Linked DNA regions of Homo sapiens: region 2 is linked to region 1. Evidence: promoter capture Hi-C in human tissues and cell types (Jung and others, 2019). All regions are on one chromosome and are shown on one strand. Each heading gives the region's core, a stretch centred on a gene start or on the middle of the fragment in contact. The rest is flanking DNA. Distances are from core to core; before and after follow the strand shown. Region 1 overlaps ADCY9 (adenylate cyclase 9). Region 2 holds the start of SLX4 (SLX4 structure-specific endonuclease subunit).

Region 1 (4,185 bases), core at 627-3,126:
CTAATATCTAATTTCCATTTTCTATTTCTAGTACATAAGCAAAAGAAATGCCCTTTTGGTCTTATGGAAAACGTGTCCTATTTAATAAGACACAAATTTGATTCAAATTTCTCTTTCTCCTCCTCCCCCTTAATAATACACTAAAAATAACTGTAATAACATCTTACACATCCTGAACGCCTGTACCTAGCAACCTCACTTACTCAGACTATAGCTGACAACTAAAAACCTGCACAAAGGCTGACTCCTTAGCCCTTTCCATCAAACGATATCTGCAGGCTGAACGAGCTTAATTACTTGTTGGTTTGGTTTTTTAATGTAACGAAGTAAAAACCAGGAGCAAATGTGATACAGGAAAGCACACCAACAGCTACATACATGGATAGCAAAAGAAGCCAAAAAAATTATTTTTTAAAATGTAAGAACTGGAAAAACAGAATGATCTCAGTTTTTTTAAAAAAGCAAAGATTCCTATTTTTATAGAGAAATTGCTATATTAGTAAAAGCCAAATAACAAGAGGCAAAAATAACTGAGTCATCAAGAAAATTACCTCTTATTTGGCACAGTCCATTTTTATGAAAGTGCTTTATCTATTTCAGAAACATAAAATCAAATGTTTGAATTGGTTAAAACAGAAAATTATCTGATTGATTAAAAGAGAAAATCCTCTGCTCTTCAGAAAACTCAACCATCCAGAAAGTGCTATCACTGACATTTATATCTAACAACATGGCAAATGAGGTTGGTTTCATATTCAACCATTTGCTGTCCCCGAAGCTCTCTATTAAGGATCTGGCTGATCAGAAAACTTAATATTTAATCAACCTAGAGCAGGCCTAGAAAAGAGGCTACTGTTTAAAAACAAACAACTGATTATATAAAACATTTACATCAAATTATAATTCAGTATTAAATCTCATGGAATCACGCCTTTCAGGAAAACGTCTGGACACTAGTGAAAATGAAATGGCTAAATCTCAATCAAAGTATATTATTAAGTAATAAAAGATTTTATCATTCAACTTTTTTTTTGTCTCTACATAAAAAAAGTATTTTTGTCTCTACAAAAAATACAAAAATTAGTCAGTCGTGTTGGCATGCGCCTGCAGTCCCAGCTACTCAGGAGGCTGAAGCTGGAGAATATCACTTGAGCCCAGGAGGCGGAGGCTGCAATGAGCTGAGATCACGTCACTGCACTCCAGCCTGGGCGACAGAGCCAGACGCTGTCTCAAAATAATTAATTAATTAATTGTTTAAAAAATCAAAGAATAGCTTAAAATTATTACTAAGCTAAGAACCTTGCTGCTATTACTTGTTCAGGAAAGCTCCACACACCATAGGCAGTGGTGCTAAATGCAACAGAAGCCTTAGTGCGAACTGGAACTTCTCCCAGGAGTCTATGGAATTGGAAACTTAATAGCTACTAAATACAGTAACATCATGACTGGAGCTATGAAAGCAAACATTTCCATTTGAACTTCAAGTGGCAGAAGGGACAAAGTTGATACCTTAGACTCATCAGCCCTGAAAGTGTTCCTAATCACAATTTCTTTCAGGAGCCAGAAAGAACACAGCGTTAATTATGTTAATCCAGCTGAGACGTTCACTATGAAATGTGTGTTAGAGAAAAGTCCTTTGAAATTTCTTATTTGCATGGTAGTTCTGAAAGTTTTTAACCTCCTGCAGTTCCTGGCACACGGAGTCAGTCACTCACTTGTCCTCAGGAAGCACAGGACAGCAGCAGGTTCGGAATCACACTTTCTCTGTGTGATTTCACAACTCGGGTCTTTGTCCAGGTGAGATTCTCACTCGGGTCAGAGGGCAAAGGTATCCAATGACAACCCTGTCCTTCAGAACCAAGTAGTGTTTTCCCATCAGCCGTGCAAATCACAGCAAATGTCATGTGGCTTTCCAGCAGCCTCTTTGCTGTTTGTTGAGGAAGGATAAGAAAACCATGGAGGATTAAAATCACCACATTCAAATTACTATAAAGAAAAGGAGGCCAGGCGCTGTGGCTCACGCCCGTAATCCTAGCACTTTGGGAGGCCAAAGTGGGACGATCGCTCGAGGCCCCGCAACACAGCAAGACCCCCATCTCTAATAAGAAAAAAAAAAGGGAGAAGAAAGAAAAGGAAAAATGCAGACAAGCCAGAAAATAAAATTGAGGAGATTAATACAATATAATAATCAGGCACTGCAGATCACACCTGGAACACCGCCTCACCCAGGCAAAGGAGGAAAAGCTTTCATGTGTGCTCATCATTTGAGCAAAAAGGAAGAAAACACACACAGAAACTCAGGAGATCCAGAAGAGACACTCTGAACAAAGAAAATGGAAATGACAGGGAACCAAATGATCCACATCAGGGATTTTAAGAGGGAAATTATGCTTCTGAATGAAAAAAATAAAATCATTCAAAACTTTTTATAAATCTTTGACAAAATCCAAGAGTTTCCTTTCAATGTTGATGACATTTAATTTTTTTTTTTTTTTTTTTGAGACAGTCTCTGTCACCTAGGCTGGAGTGCAATGGCGCAATCTCAGCTCACTGCAACCTCTACTTACCAGGTTCAAGCGATTCTCCTGTCTCAGCCTCTGAGTAACTGGGATTACAGGTGCGCACCACCATGCCCGGCTAATTTTTGTATTTTTAGTAGAGACAGGGTTTCGGACGTTGGCCAGGCTGATCTCGAACTCCTGATCTCAGGTGATCCACATGCCTCAGCCTCCCAAAGTGCTGCGATTACAGGCGTGAGCCACCGCGCCCAGCCCTCTAATTTCTAATTACAACATCTAAGGTAGACACTTTCCAGATGCATTAATGTGGGGGACAACTAGAGGACTAACACGTCCCCTTGCACACTCAATATAGGGCCAGTAGATCCAGAAGCTCACCGTCAAGAGCAACAAGAGCAAGCAAGTCCTTCCTCAACAGAATCATCGGTAAGAACACTGTCAGTCCAGGATTCACTCAGTCCTACGAGTGAAAAACTTGCCAACACAGTGAAATTCATTTTACTGGCAACTAACCTTCCAATCTCTCTCTAAAATAATGTTCACATGGGAACTGAAGCACATTAAAAAAATAATAATTATTCACTTCACATTTTCTCCAAGCCATTTCAAAAGTGTTTCTCAGACTTTCAAAATCAAACAGGATTCCCAGACCAGGCACCATGGGTCACGCCTGTAATCACAGCACTTTAGGAGGCCAAGGCAGCTGGATTGCTTGAGCTCAGGAGTTCAAGACCAGCCTGGGCAACATGATGAAACCCCATCTCTACAAAATACACAAAAATTAGACGGGCATGATGTTGCATGACTATAGTCCCAGCTACTCGAGAGGCTGAGGCACAAGACTCACTTGAACCCAGGAGGCGGAGTTTGCAGTGAGCTGAGATCACGCCACTGCACTCTACCCTGGGTGACAGAGCAAGACTCTATCTCAAAAAAAAAAAAAAAAAAAAAATCAAATGGGGTTCCTCTAACGATACCCTGCTTTATTCAGGAAACGTGATCCTCAGGAAACCATGTGTAAATTATACTTCTAGAACTCAATCTTACGTATTTATATTTAAAGGAAGTAAAGAATCTTTTATGAAGTTACAAATCTCACACACGCCCTGCAATTTAGTGGCTCTATAAATCGGAGCTTCCCTATGCTAAATGTGTCTAAATGAGAGTTCGTAGTTGAAACAAGAGGACAAAGAAAAAAACACTTTTCAAATTAAGAATGAGCACTATGTCCCAATCACGTGAGAATCTCAGCTATACTTAGACAATGGTGGAGATTTTAAGCATATCTATCTCAAACTTTATATTTTACCAATATGAAAAAAGCAGAACCAGAGAGATTAAATTATTTGCCCAAAAGTGCTTGTTAGTGGAGGAAATGTATTAAGACCAAAAGCTAATTTACAAAAACAAATTAAATTTTCAAATAAGATCATGCTATAAAAGTGCTTCCCTTTCAGAAACCACCCTCACCACACCCAGTTTTTAGGCAGCTCATTCACACACACAAAAATCACATTAATGAACATCAGAAGCAGTGGCCTTTCCTTATGGGAAAAAGAACTCATTTATGAAGTTCCAGAATGCGATGCAATCCACACTTTAAATAGTAACACAATAGGGTACGAACTAACTGAATCAACATGCAATAAACACTTTCACTTAAAGT
Region 2 (4,185 bases), core at 1,054-3,553, 480 kb before region 1:
GAGGCAGAGGCAAGAGAATCGCTTGAACCTGGGAGGCGGAGATTGCAGTGAGCCGAGATCGTGCCACTGCACTCTAACCTGGGCAACAAGAGCAAAACTCTGTCTCAAAAAATAATAATAATAAATAAATAAAGTTCACAACTGAAAGAGTGTTTTGTTGTCCAATAGATGCCTCTGAGATCGAATACATATGAACCTGGTGCTCAGATAATTCTCCAAGATCTCCATGATGATGAAACATATATGGTTCACTTAATTACACATCTGTGGAAAACCAAAAGCATGTAAGTGTAATCAGACATTGTCATTTTATGCCAGTTCTTCCAGGGAGGGACAAGGGCATGTGGGGTGAGGGAAAAGTCTTCGGAGTAACAATACTGTCAAATACTCAGTCCAGCCTGGTTAACATGGTCTAACCGTCCTATCAGACATCACAACAAAAGGACCTAGAAACCTGTCAAAGCATGTTGTTCTTCCACAGGTATTAAAATATGTGCATCTTGGGAGAGTGTTTTCTTAACTGAAATTTAGGGAGCAAACCCCATAAAAGGCAGTCACCACAGAAACAGGATGATCCCCAAATCTAGGAAAACTATCTCCTACACTGATCTAAGACCCCTGGCTGTTAAAGAGGCTCTTTCTGTAAATACTGCAACATAAGAGACAGAAAGAGACATTATATTCTCATGAACACTCAGGAGAGAAAAGGTCACTTTTACTTATCTTCTCAACCCAGCAAGGCTCTCCAAACCTGGATGACTGGAATGTCGCCTGTGTGCAAAGGCTGGGCCTCGTGAGCATGGTTGTTTACTTTGGCACACAGCTAAGTGGGGTTCAAAAATCAAAACTGAATGACCCAATGGCAGAAAGTTATTCCTTTCAAATACAATAATGCAATCTCCACTGTCCAAGGAATCTAATTAATCATTTTGTTTTCCAGAGCTGAAAATACTCCTACCTAGAATCTACTTTGTATGGCTGGCGCATTCTCTTCTGTGTCTTCCCCTTAGAGAAGTGTCCTCTAATCCTTTATGGACCGTCTCCATCCCCGTTAATCCCTATCATCGCCCACTGTTTTCACAATGGCATCTGTCATAGGTTATCATCATATGAAACAGGTAATATCTATCGAATGCTTACTGTGTGCCAAGCACTGTTCCAATTGCTTTCCAAGTCAAACTCGTTTAATCCTTACAAGAAGCCTATATGGTGGAATCTCTTGTCATCCTGTCTTTACGGCAAGGAAACACGCGCAAGCAGAATGAGGAACTGGCCTAAAGCCAGTTCAGGAACAGCTTTCACAGTGGCAGGGCTGGGATCAAACCCAGGAAGTGTGGTTCGAAACTATCCGCTCTTGTGTTTTTATTCATCGGCTTATTATCTGTCCCCCATTAAGCTCAACACTTCAGGAGGGTAGAGATCCATCTATTACTTTGCAACCTCTTTGGCTGATCTGGTGCCTGACTTGAAATAAGTGCTCCACAACTACTTGTTGAATTCATGAATTGCAAAGAGTTCGGTATAATGGGAGTAGAGAGAAAGGTGTAGGAGAAAACGCTGCGGGGAGAGGAAAGGATTGGCTCACAAGGGCCTGGAAGGTCAGGCTAGGCAAAGTGAATTTTATCCTGTTGGATGCGGGGAGCGGCTGGAACAAATTCCACCTCCACAACTGTGTTGATCTCCGCATCTCTGTTGATATGAACCTCACAACAGTCTATCTCCTCCTATAGGTGCCCAGTCAAGATTTACTGAATGACATAACGGATCCTGCAAGCCTGCAGGTTTCCAGAGGGAAGGGGACTTGTGCCTCCTTGCTTCGTACCTACCGCAGCCCACGGCTCACAGCAGGCGAGGGATGAATGAATGGATCGGTAAGGGGCGGACCCTCCCGCTTCCCCCAACCCGGCGACCTACGGAAAGGGGCTGAGGGGTTCCCCGTCTGGGAAAAGGGCTGCCAAAGACTCTAACGGCTCTAAAGTCAGACGGAGAACCCCGATCCCCGGACTGGCCCGGACGGAGACCACCGTGGGGATCCGGATCCGCCACCCTCCTCCCTCCAGGCGGGCCCCGGCCCCTCTCCACCCGAGTGCGGCTCCTGCCTCTCCGTCGGGGCTGCGGGCCTGCCGAGGCCACGGAGCCAGCGAGGGAGACGGGCGAGAAAGGCTCTTCTCCCTTAGGAAAGAGAGAACGGCCCGAAATGACAGGACCTCCGCCTCCCGGGTGCCGACTCCCAGCCCCACAGCCCGGCTCCTCCTACCTCCGGCGCCGCCGCGGCACCTTCTTAACGGAGACTCGCGCGCCTGCGCATGCGCCGCCCGCGCCCCCGCGGAGCATTGCCTGCGCGCAGGCGCAGAGCGGGCGCGCGCGGTGGTGCGGCAGCCTCGCTTCCGGTCTTCCTCTGCGGCGCCGGGCGCGGGCCCGCGGCGGCCAGCGCTTCCGGTCGGCAGGAGGCGGGGCGAGGCGGAAGCGGCGCTTGCTTCAGGTGGAGTCTGTTAGTTTTTGAGAAAGAGTTAGGGCGAGTTTAAGGCACTGTGGCAGCTGTGAGATAAAGTCTGGTTCCTCCCCAGCTGGCTCAGGAAATGTTCGCGGATACAACGGCGGCCCCCTCTGGGCATACCTGCCTGTGGAGCGGAGAGTGGACGGTGTGAGGGGGACCGGGAGAGGCACCAAATCTGGCCTGGGGGCCCGAGAAGCTTCCTCTCAGGTGGGGTGGCGTGAGAGTCGAGGCCTGGAGGTCGGGGAGGGTTAGCTACGTGAAGAGGGGATTCTGCCGCGCTTCAGGTGCCTGGAGGGGATGCCCGAGCTCTTCCGCAGGGCTAGGGTGAAGCCAGCCAGGGCCTGGGGGAAAGGTAGCAGAGGTTTGCCATGGCTTGGTATTTGAGGGACTTTACACATCGTATTAAGGGTTTGAGCTTCAACTTGGGGTCGTCGGGAGCCATTGAAGGTTTTTTGTTGTTTGTTTTTTGAGACGGGGTTTTGCTCTTGTTGCCCAGGCTGGGGTGCAGTGGCGCGATCTCGGCTCACTGCAACCTCTGTCTCCCGGGTTCGAGCGGTTCTTGTGCCTCACCTTCCCAAGTAGCTGGGATTACAGGCGCCAGTCACCACGCCCAGCTAATTTTTGTGTTTTTAGTAGAGACTAGGTTTCACTCTGTTGCCCAGGCTGGTCTCCAACTCCTGACCTCAGGTGATCCGCCCGCCTCGGCCTCCCAAAGTGGTGGGATTACAGGCGTGAGCCACCGCTCACGGCTTTTTTTTTTTTTTTTTTTAAGTAGAGACGGGCGGTGGGGGCGGGGGGGGGAGTCTCACTATGTTGCCCAGGCTGGTCTCGAGCCCTGGCCGCAAGAGATCCTCCCGCCTCGGCCTCCCAAAGCGCTGAGATTACAGGCGTGAGCCACCACGCCCGGCGTAAGATTTTGTTTTTAAAGGCCTAATTACAGTGAGAACAGATGAGGCAAGGACACCCATTAGGAGGCTATTACATAATCTAGATGAAAAGTGAGAGCGGCCCGAATTAGGAGGTGGAGCGAAAAGAATGGAGAAATATGGAGCATAGTCAAGACGCAGTTGTTAACGATTTGCCGGTTTCTGGCCTTAACATCTGAGAGTAGTGTGCCTCCAGTCACTGAAATAATGAACACAGGAGAGGTGTAAAGGAATCAGTTTGCAGGGCAGACAATATGTTTTTTAAAAGATACAGTATCATAAAATGCACACTAGAAGTGTACATTCAGTGGTTTCCAGTACGTTCACAGGATTTGCAGCCATCGTCGCTAATTCCAGAACGTTTTAAAACCCCAAATCGAACCTGCCGTACCCATTCGTAGTCACTCCGCAATTCCCCCGACCCCATCCCCTGGCAATCACTTATCGGCTTTCTGTCTCTGTGGTTTTGCGTATTCAGTACATTTTATGTAAATGGGATCATGTGATACTTGGCTTTTTCTGCTGGGCTTTTATTAAGCATGTTTTCAAGATTTCATCCATGTAGATGAATCAGTACTGCATGCCTTTTCATGGCTGCATAATCACGTGTTTGGATGGACCATGTTTTGTTTATCCATGTATCAGGTGATGGGCATATGGATGTTTTTACTTTTTGGCTGTTAGAAATAATGCTGCTATGAACATTCGTGTTCATAACACAAGTTTTTGTGTTCTAGGAGTGGAATTACTGGGTAAGACTAC

Evidence for each region. The method cuts DNA at HindIII sites, captures the fragments that hold promoters and counts their contacts. A contact is called where the count stands out against the background at its distance.
Region 2: a contact is called between the fragment with the promoter of SLX4 here and a fragment that was not itself captured in region 1, in 1 of the 25 tissues and cell types used here (dorsolateral prefrontal cortex).

Annotation. Positions count from the first base shown.
Region 1 is chr16:4,092,528-4,096,712 of GRCh38, forward strand. All of the region lies in intron 2 of ADCY9 (adenylate cyclase 9), which reads right to left. Among named protein-coding and RNA genes, the nearest start is that of ADCY9, 22 kb to the right of the region's middle. RefSeq lists a silencer at 1,621-1,915. The HindIII fragment of the contact is 3,047 bases long and covers 354-3,400 here.
Region 2 is chr16:3,609,303-3,613,487 of GRCh38, forward strand. SLX4 (SLX4 structure-specific endonuclease subunit) reads right to left here and starts at 2,304. Exons shown (of 15, transcript NM_032444.4): 1 at 2,258-2,304; 2 at 1-264. It also overlaps a transcript of DNASE1 not described here. RefSeq lists a silencer at 2,162-2,511 and an enhancer at 2,552-2,621. The HindIII fragment of the contact is 5,274 bases long and covers 1-4,185 here.